3 separate regions of the Homo sapiens genome follow, and regions 1 and 2 are each linked to region 3. Evidence: promoter capture Hi-C in human tissues and cell types (Jung and others, 2019). All regions are on one chromosome and are shown on one strand. Each heading gives the region's core, a stretch centred on a gene start or on the middle of the fragment in contact. The rest is flanking DNA. Distances are from core to core; before and after follow the strand shown.

Region 1 (3,382 bases), core at 653-3,152, 260 kb after region 3:
CTGTAGTAATAAAATGGTGAGTGGGGTGGGCAGGACAAACCCAAGAAATCTGCGATATTGAAAAAAGAGACAGGTGAGATTCTTTGGGGATAAGCATGAGATGATAAAGAAAGGAATCAACAGTGAATTAAAGACAAGGTGGGCTCCGTAGTGGACCTTAGTCTTGTTCATCAAGCATCTGACCTTCCTGACCATTTGGGGGTTATTCCACCAATGGTCTTGAAGGGAGAGAGTACCCCCATTGTGTGTAATAGAAACCCAATGGACCAGACCTCTTTTGCCTGTCCCTTTGCAGCCCTGGTAGGGCACATGACCTACACTAGGCCATTGCGTGCTCCCATTGTAACCAATGAAGTAAAGATAAAGAGCTGGTGAGAATCCATCCACAGGGCAGCAGGGGTGTTGGCAGCATCCTGGCCAAGCTGTTCCTGGGGAAGAGGCTGGGTGTGCCTCCAGGCTTGGTCCTGCCCTTTTCTGAGCCTCATCCTTTAGCCTCCTGATGATTCTACAAACCACCAGTGTCCTACAAATATATTCTTTTTTAAAGAAATTTTTTTTTTCCAATCAACTGTCCTGACTGATTCATCCATCAGTCAAATTATTCCAGTGATAATTTATGAGCCAGGAAAGAAGTCTAGCCAGTGGCTTGTGTTCAATGTAGCTTGGTGACACGAATCCGGTGCTTTGCTGATGCAAGGAAGTAAAAAATGGGGTGAGGAGAGCCTTCATCAAGAAGGGTGTAAGTGACAAAGCTGAATATTAACTCTAACCTATCTGTAAGCATTGGACGCATGAGTACTTGGAATGTACAGTTCTGGCCATTGTGCCTAAAGGAAAGTAGAATGGAAAGGGCACCTCAAATAAGAAAACAAAGATGCTTTCCTGTGGGTACAGATGAGATCTGGCCCAGGAGGGTGAATTCATGAGTGACAGCTTGGGATCTGGCTGTGCATGGCAAGCAGTCATGCAGCCACCCAGCCCCTTAGCACTTTTAGCCCTGAGTTAGCTAGTAACATCTTGGACCCTGATCTTTTGCAAGTTGACACCAAGAAGAACAGCTGTGCCCTCTTATTCTATCTGTTGGTGCCTTGTGGGTCATGGATCTCATTCATTCATTCGTCATTTATATTTCTGTGTTGGGCACCAAGAATTCTAGGGTAAACAAGACAGAAGGCCTGCTTAAATGAAGCCTCCAGATTAGTGGAGGGGGCACCACGATAGGTGCTATCCTAACATCATGTTGGGGATGCTATGGAGCACTGAGAAGCAACTACTGTAGTCAGGGAAGAGGGGATGGCCTCACAGTGGAGGTGAGGTTGGTGCTGAGTTTTGTAGCACAATTAGGAGTTTAACAGACAATGAGTAGATTAGGGCGTGTGAACAGAGGCTTCCTACAGACAGAAAAATCATGCTGATCAGACTTTCAGTGTGCAGGGTGTGGAGCTAAAGAGGTCACAGACCATGAAGAGCCTTATATGTCAGGACAGGGGGAGATTTTGATATATCTGCAACGGAGACATTGTGGTCAGATTTGAGTTTAGAGAACAGAGGCTTAGGGGATGATTCAGAGTGAATCATCTGAAGATTTAAACTCATCTTTAAGGGTGAGCTTAAAGGCAAGAGGCCAATGAGCATTGTGGTTGGCCAGTTTGTTCTCAAAGTGTGGTCTCTGGGAACGCATGCGGAATCCAGATTTCTAGGCCCCACCCCAAGCCTACTGAACCAGGAACTCTGAGGAGGGGCCCAGAAGTTTGTGTTTAGCAAGCCCTGCAGCTGAGTCTGGCAGACGCTTCATTTGAGGACCACTGTGCAATCCATATGAAATGTGGTGGTGGATTCAGCTGAAACCATGGAATGAATGGGGGCGAGGCTGGGGATGTGGAAACTGTATCCCAGGGATCAGATCTAGACGACTCAGTGGATGATTGCATGGGGTGCAGGTGGGTGGGTGCTGGGGGGGTAGAAAGGCACAGGAGCAGGTTCTGGCACTGGCGAATGAAACCGCTTCTCACACAGGTATCCCTCATGGGCTTCCTGTTCCTTTTGGGCTTATACATCTCGTCCCTGGCTTCCTGCATGGGAGGACTTTATGGAGCTCCCCGCATCCTGCAGTGCATTGCCCAGGAGAAAGTGATCCCTGCACTTGCCTGTCTGGGACAAGGGGTGAGTAATCCTCTTTTTTTGGTTTGTTTTTTGAAACATGTTTTGCTGCTAACCTCACTGTTGGCCCATCAATTGGTTAAGCTTTTCTGATCAGAGCCTCTGGTCAATTTCTTTGGGGTGACACAGAAAATAATGCAGAGGTCATTTCTTTCAGCCCTGTCCTCTGGCTGGCTTAGGTTAGGGCTAAGTAGATGAAGCATCTTAAATGTCCCAGCCACCCAGCCCCTTAGCACTTTTAGGACTGGGTTAGCTAACCAGTCCTAGTACCATCTTGGACCCTGAGCAGCATGAAAATGCAGTGCCCCATCCTTTAATGAAAATGAATTCAGGATCCTCCAGGTTTAGCATAGAAGAAAGCGTGTTTTGGTCAGGAGGCGAGCTGGTCCTTGCAGCTCTAACTCTGCCCTTGAGTTTCAACCGCCCCTTGGGGGTTGCTGTTTGATGATTTCCTACACCTCTGGCGTCTACACTTCCTGTTAACCATCATGAACCAAACCTTAACTGATACATAAAGGGCAGCTCAGTTGAGACATGGCTGGAATGATTAAAATAGACATTCCTAAAGTCCAGGGGAGGACCAAAGAGACATAAACAGAGAATCCCATTTCCCACTAATATGGTTTGCAAGCTAGAGTTCATTTTTGTCTTGTTGGGGTACCCCAGAGGGCCTCCCCAGCCGCTTCCAATTTTCAGCCTCTCTCTGGTTTAGGGAACACATCGTTGCAACTTATCCTTGATTTCTTCCTTTATCTTCCTCCAAAAATGCAGTTTGGTTTTGGACATAGTCCGTTTGAGATCCTATTAGACGTTCACTGGAAATGTTGAGTAGGCAGTTGGATATGTAAACCTGGGTTTCAGGGGAATGTTTTAGGCTGGAGATTCAAATTTGGAAGTTGTCAGTATAATGCCGGTATTCAAAGCCGTGAGCCTAGTTGAGCTCACCAAGGGAGGGAGTACAGATAGAGATCTGAGGATGGAGCCTGGGGCTGCTTTAAATGTGGAGTTCAGAGACGTGAAAAGCCAGCCACAGAAACCAAGAAGGAGCAGCCAGTGAAGAGGGAGGCCAATCAGGAGAAGTAAGGTGAAGAAAGTGTTTCGAAGAGGACTGAGTAGCCAGCTGGGTTAAAGAAGACAGGGACTGAGAAGTGACTGTTGCTTTTGGCCCAAGAACTATGTCAGTGACTGTGATGAAGAGCTCCCAGGAGAGGCAGCTAGCACC
Region 2 (3,109 bases), core at 450-2,949, 280 kb after region 3:
TGGGAGGCTCTCTTCCATGCATCCACTCAGGGATCCAGGCTCCTGCCATTTGTATGACTTCACTATGCCCTCGGACCTAGTCATGTGAAGAATCAAGACTGAGTTACCACATTCAGATTTCAGGCAGAGGAAGGGGAAAGTGCACAGAGAAGAGGCACACATTCTCTTAAAGACCTTGGGCCAGGAGTGGCACTCACTGCTTCTGTTCACATTCTGTTGCTGAGAACTTAGTCACATGGTTACACCTAACAGTGAGAAATCCTGTGGACTGTACTCTAGCTGGGGTCTGTACCACAGGAGCCCGCTGCAGTAAATGGATGAAAGATGAAAGTGGGTTGGACTAGGATGGGAGCAATGGAGGCAGTGAGGAGTCATTGTATCCAGAATATATTCTGATAGTAGAATAAACAAGGTTTATGGATGGAATAAGTATAGGTGTGAGAGAAAGAAGGGAGTCAGGATGAATCTTACATGTTTGTGTAAATGGTGGTGTTATTTATTCAAATGAAGATTTGAGGTGAATAGATTTCTGTGTTAGTCATGTTAAGTTTAAGGTGCTTATTAGCCAACTAATGGGTGATACTGAGAAGACAATGAGCTATTCAAAACTTAAGTTCAAGGGAGAGGTCGAGGATGATGTAAACTTGGAGTCATCAATATATCAGTAGCATTTAAAGCCATGAGACTAGAAGAAATCTCTTAGGAGTGGGTATACATGGAAAAAAGGAGTGCTGAAGACTGAATGTTGGAATACTCCAATATTTTCAGGTTGGAAGGAGGAGGCGAGCCAGCAAAGAAGACTGAGAGAGTGGGCAGTGACATAGAAAAATCAAGAGAGTGAGGCATCTTAGAGGATAATTTTTCCAAGAAGGAGAAAGTGATCACATGTATCAGATGCTGCCTGAAAGATCAAATGGGATGAGGGCTAGGAGTTGACCACAGAATTTGAAAAGATTCAAATCATTGGCAACTTTGGTAAGAGTAGTTTTAGTGGAAAAGTAGATACAATCATAAGAGTGGGTTGAGGAAATAATGGGATATAGAGACTGCATAGGCAATTCTTTTGAGGAGGTTTGCTATAAGGGAGAGACAGCAATAGGACAATAACTAGGGGTGAGCTGTAGACATTTGTTTAGGTGGGAGAGAAGACAGTATATTTGTATTTGTTGGGAATGATTCAGTAGGGGACAGAAAAATTGATGATGTGAGAACAAAGTCCTTGAACAGGCCAAAAGGGATGGGATCCTGGCACAAGTGGAGGGATGGGCCTTAGTTAGGATCAGAGGCTGTTCATCCACCGTGAAAGGAAGGAAGGCAGAATAGAGGGTATAGATGCAAGTGAATTGGCTAATTGGGTGATGAGAGAACATGAAAAGTTCTCTTTGGAGAAGAGAGCTTGTAAATTTGTTCTATCAGAGAGTAGGAGGATGAGTTGCCTAGGTATGAGGCTGCTGAGTAATTCTGAAGCATGGGAGCAGATGTGTATGTAGGTAAGAGGTTAGGGAAAGCGGGAGGTAGGTGATGGAAATCAAAAACATACTAAGGCAAACTATCTAAAGGTCCCTCTGTAGACTATGAATGGTTGGAATGAGGAACAGCAGAGCAAATGAGCTTAACGTTGCTTTTAAAGGAGGTTATGGGCTGAGAGTAGATTGCTGAAAGTCATGATTTAGGAAGTGTAAGGTTACTGGTAATGACACACCGCAAGTGCAGCTAAGGGAGTTGACAGTTGGGATGAGTGAAAGAAAAGATTATTAGTATGAGGATTTCAAGGAATCGAGAAAGTAGGGCTTTGGATGAGTTGTTTTTGTAGAAGTCACCAATGATGACAATGGATGCTGATAGAGAAAAAGATGGTGAACCAGGGGCTGAAATATTTAACAAGCAAGAGAAGAATGACAAGTTGGTAAAAGACTGTAATGATGAAGGGTAGGGTGTGAAATAGTCTGATGGCATGTGCTTCAAAGGGGCTAGGTCATAAAGCAACAGTGACCAGAGAGGATGGGAGACTTGGGCTAGGAATACTTAGTGAGTTCTGCTACATGCCAAGCCCTAGGCTCAAGATGGATGTGGACCCTGCCCCCATGAAGCATATAATCCAATGGGCATAGAAACATGTAAATAAGTATACAACTACAAATGATGGTAAGTGCTGTGAAGGAAATGGGCCATAAGGAAATATTAATGGTATGTGGGAATATATTTAGATTTTCCTGTGGGGGCTGATTTCCCTGAGGAAGTGATAACTGAGCTGAGGGATGCATAGGAGTTAGATAAGCAGAGGGCTAGGGGATCCATGAGACGTGGATCCCAGATAGATTCCAGGAACCAACACATCAGGAGTGGTTGACATGGGGAAGAACACTGGTATATGAGACAGGATTTGGACCGTAGTGAAGAAGGAAGGGCTGGGCAGAGGAGATGACACAGTCAAGAGAGTTTGGCTGAAGTGGAAATTTGATATTGGAGAACAGAGAAGGGCTATGTAGGGAGCTTTCTACTATATTTCCTGAGCAACAAACTATGAAGGTTGAGAACACCTGAAGTTTTAGTGTTGAAATGAAGTATAAACATACTGCGAAGTTAATTCAACATATCATTTATTTGAAACATTATTGTGGTGTTCATGGTGATTAGACCATATTGTTAAACAATCTAGATGCATTTTCATAGTTAAATTGAGCATTTCTGCAGAAATAGAAAGTCAAATGCCTCATGTCTTCACTTATAAGTGGGAGCTAAATAATGTGTACACATTGACATAGATTGTGGAGTAATAGACTTTGGAGACTCGGAAAGGTAGGAGGGTGGGATTGAGAGATGAGAAATTGCCTAATGGCTACAGTGTACACTATTTGGGTGAGGCTTACACTAAAAGCCCAAACTTCACTACTCTGACATTAAAAAATTATTATTATTTTTAAATTGAGCGCTTCTGGAGCCAGCTGTAAACTGAGAATGCAGAGCTGAATAGAACATGACATAGCTCTGAAAGCCCTGTTGTGCCTGAAAGGATGAGGCAGGATCATGCATTTGTTTATTGCCAGGCCCCTTTCCCCTCAGCCATTTCAATTGCCAGAGGAAGGAATCAGAGGAGCTATTCTCCCTC
Region 3 (3,380 bases), core at 817-3,316:
TGTATATTTTCATTGCAATGCTCTATTCCCAAATAAACATTATTTTCTTTTAGAAAGCCTCTCTGTTATTTAGGTTGACACTGATTTTGATGTCTTACTAGAGCTTTGTAAGATGTCACCATTGGGGAAAGCATGGGACTCTGGACTATTTTTGCAACTTCTTGTGAGTCTATAATTATTTCAAAATAAAAAGTTAAAAAAAAAAAAAAGGAAAAGTAAGTAGGCTGAGTACCTACGGGTGGTGTTTAGGGAAGTGAGCAAGAGGAGCATGGAGAGCCAACCTGAAGCTGAGAAGTTTTTCCAGTTTAACTTATAAAGGACCTAAGCTTGCTCCTCACCATCGCTTTTGCTGTTACTATCCCTGTAGTGCTCTTCGTTCTGCCCATTTTAGACAGCTGTTTCTCTATCGCTTGTTAGGCTGCTGAGCAGAGAACTAGATCTATTCCTAATAGCAAACCAATCAATCCTAGCCCATTGGATGTAACCTCCAGGCCTTGAGCCCTTTTCAGTTATTAGTTTTCCCACTGCCTAATACTGAGAGTCGGCTTTCTTGCTGCCAGAGGTGTTTTTCATTATGACGTCTGAATTTGATGCCACTGCGGGTGCTAGAAGTTGCCAGAAGGCTGTCCTCCAGATAACTGTCCCTTGGCTCTAACTTGTGTCATTGTTTTGTTGCAATTAACATTCAGAATATGTGCGGTCATCTTATTAAAATTTATATTTTTTAATGGAGAAAGCACACAGAGAGAGTTGATTGTGGAGCTGTGGTTTACTCTTGCTCTTAGTTACCTGTGTCTAAATTAAGCTGAACCTCTGGGCCTTAGCTATTTCTAAACAGGCATCACGATTTACTAAGGTTAATGCCTGAGGGAACATTAACCTTGCAGACACTAATCTAATTCAGTGTCATCACAAGTGCATAATGCAGGAGTTTGGAATTTTGCCAAAAAGCACTATTCAAATGAACATTTAGTTGGCAAGGGGTGGGAAGGCGGGTGTGGAAAAGGGAAGGAGAACACCAGAAATGGCTCTATAGATATTTTCATGCCTTTTCTTTTCCCTCTCCCCTCAAAGGTTACGTTTAAGTATTGCAGAGAGGCGCTAAATGGAATCTTCATATTATTATGAAGAAATCCCAATGAACGCGTTTTATCCCACGGCAAGTTCCAGATGCTCACAATTACTCAACATTCACTGAGCATCTTTTATGTTATATGGCTGACCTTGTGCTAGGGTGTGTACACAAAGATGAGTAATTGTAAACGATGGCAGTATGCAGAAGCACCTCAGGGCGCCTAATGTTAGCTGACGAAGGCACCATTAAGGAGGTCACAGTTTGGCTAAAGGGCCCCCAAAGGATGAGACAACTGTGTAATCCTAGCTCTATAGAGATCATTACCAAGTCTTTGCCATACAAAGTTTGGGCTTCAGGTGAAATGAGAAGGGCAAGGTTCTGCCCAAGAGGGTCCAGGGCCGGATCTCTTGATCTGTGTCTATGCCCACACCCTGCATCTCAGCTTGCAGACACTAATAGGGTTTGCCAGTTTCAAGGGCGCAGGGCTACATCTTCCGGAAAAGGTGGCATTTGAAGGTGGTAAGAGGCCAACGACTGGAGGTGGCGGCGAAGGGCTAGGTAAGACAGAATAAATGAAAAAGCCAAGACATTTCTGGCAAATAACCTTTCACCTAGGTCCCCGACCCTTCCATTTCCCCAGGCCTGAAACGCTCCCGAATCCCCGAGTCCTCCACTTTCCAAGCGCTGGGCATTGGTTAAGGCTGTAGGAGCAGGGAGTCCCCCGCTCTAAGAGAGTTCCTCAGTTCCGATCTTTTTCAAACCGCTTTCCTCCCAGGCCCAGCCTGGGGGGCCTGCGGCTCGGGTCCAGCTTCCACGGCCACCCTGGGCTGGTGACACGCAGGCGCCGGAATCGAAGCCACGCTGTGTCTTTCCAGCCAGGTCTCTGCGCCAGACGAGGGCGGGCGCCGCGGAGCGCTTCCCGTGTGCGGGGCTTCCCACAATGCACCGGGCCGGCAGTGGCGGCGACCGCGGCGGCGCTCTAGCTGCGGCATGTCTGCGTCTCTACTGCTCTGGGAGGAGGAAGAGAAGGAGGAAGAGGAGGAGGAGGAGGAGGGGGAGGAAGAGGAGAAAGGCGCAGGGGTGGGAGCTGTTGCCGAAGCTGCCACAGCAAAAGTTCTCCCCCCTCCCCCCTTCCCCTCCTCTCAAGGCCCCTAGAAAGGTTGGAGCTGCCGCCGCCTGCAGTCGGTGACCGCGCGACTCGGCGCCCGCCCGCGGTAAAGCGCTCGGCCTGGCAGGCCCGGGCCCGGGGGAGGGCGGGGGAGGGGGAGGGGGCGGCGCGCGGGGGGAGCGCGCGGCGGTAACGGCCTGACCCCGGGGGGAGCGAGCCGTGGCGAGGCTGGGGGTGGCCAGGGGGCCAGCCGAGGCCGAGGGAAACGCTGGGGCTGGCTGGGGGACGTGAGGAAGCAGGGCGCGGAGGGTGGGTTGGGGGGTTGAGGAGGGATAATGACGGGGGTGGCGGAGGCGAGAAGGCGGCCTCCGAGGCTGGAGGCGGGTGTCAGAGGTAGGGGAGGAGGTGGGATGTTTGCACGGGGAGGCCGGAGGGTGCTGGGTGTGGGTGTGAAAAGGCTAGGGAGACACCAGGGCTCTGTCCACCGTGCCTGGTGCAGTGCTTTATGCACCGCAGGCCTCAGTCACTGTTGCTGCCGGAGTGTGCTCTTTGGGAGAAGGGAAGGGCAGGGGTTGGAGAAAAGGGAATGCTTGCAGGAAACGTAGTGGGAGTGCGAACAGGGCGAGGGGCCGGAGGAAAGATGCCGGAGAGGTGGAGGAATGCGGGGAGGTGGCTGTGGAGGAGTCTTGAGGATTCTGGGGGGTGTTCATTGTGCAGATACGTTAGGTATTTCATTATGGAAAGAACTGAAGCGTTTCTCAGGGAAGGAAAGAAGGGAGATAGGAGTTCCCGTGAATAGAAAGGATCGCGTTTGAAGCAAGAGGGAGTGCTAAATAGTAGAGAAGATGCAGGGAATGCATAATAGAATAGACAGATGTAGTATAATTAATAAATATTGGCCTAAGTACTGAAGAGTTATTCCAGATGGGCCGGGATGGCCTAGTTCCGAACCTGTGTGGGCTGTTCAGTAGATGACATCTGGTAAGTGTGGGTCTGGGCCGTGGTTGGGGTCACTGAGAATTAGATTTTAGTCTGTAGTTTGGTCTGTGACATTTTAGACGTGCACCAATGAGTATGAGAACCTCTGAAGCAGACCTTGAGAAAGGGTCTGGCCTGTGGGGATTCCTTAGGCTATGGAGCTTCGATTTTAGAAAATTTGAAGTATTAACACTTACCCGAGGTTGGGTAAATACTATC

Evidence for each region. The method cuts DNA at HindIII sites, captures the fragments that hold promoters and counts their contacts. A contact is called where the count stands out against the background at its distance.
Region 1: a contact is called between a fragment that was not itself captured here and the fragment with the promoter of ZNF148 in region 3, in 1 of the 25 tissues and cell types used here (mesenchymal stem cells).
Region 2: a fragment that was not itself captured here is called in contact with the fragment with the promoter of ZNF148 in region 3 in 1 of the 25 tissues and cell types used here (IMR-90 fibroblasts).

The regions. Positions count from the first base shown.
Region 1 is chr3:125,108,970-125,112,351 of GRCh38, reverse strand. It overlaps SLC12A8 (solute carrier family 12 member 8), which reads left to right. Exons shown (of 14, transcript NM_024628.6): 9 at 2,017-2,163. Among named protein-coding and RNA genes, the nearest start is that of MIR5092, 41 kb to the left of the region's middle. RefSeq lists enhancers at 1,176-1,225, 1,516-1,725, 3,185-3,354, 3,375-3,382. The HindIII fragment of the contact is 6,091 bases long and covers 1-3,382 here.
Region 2 is chr3:125,092,687-125,095,795 of GRCh38, reverse strand. All of the region lies in intron 10 of SLC12A8 (solute carrier family 12 member 8), which reads left to right. Among named protein-coding and RNA genes, the nearest start is that of DAGARR, 33 kb to the right of the region's middle. The HindIII fragment of the contact is 9,463 bases long and covers 1-3,109 here.
Region 3 is chr3:125,374,011-125,377,390 of GRCh38, reverse strand. ZNF148 (zinc finger protein 148) reads left to right here and starts at 2,066. Exons shown (of 9, transcript NM_021964.3): 1 at 2,066-2,289. LOC105374080 (a long non-coding RNA gene) reads right to left here and starts at 1,965. Exons shown (of 3, transcript XR_924427.3): 1 at 339-1,965. RefSeq lists enhancers at 1,742-1,791, 1,902-2,171 and a silencer at 2,282-2,331. The HindIII fragment of the contact is 11,832 bases long and covers 1-3,380 here.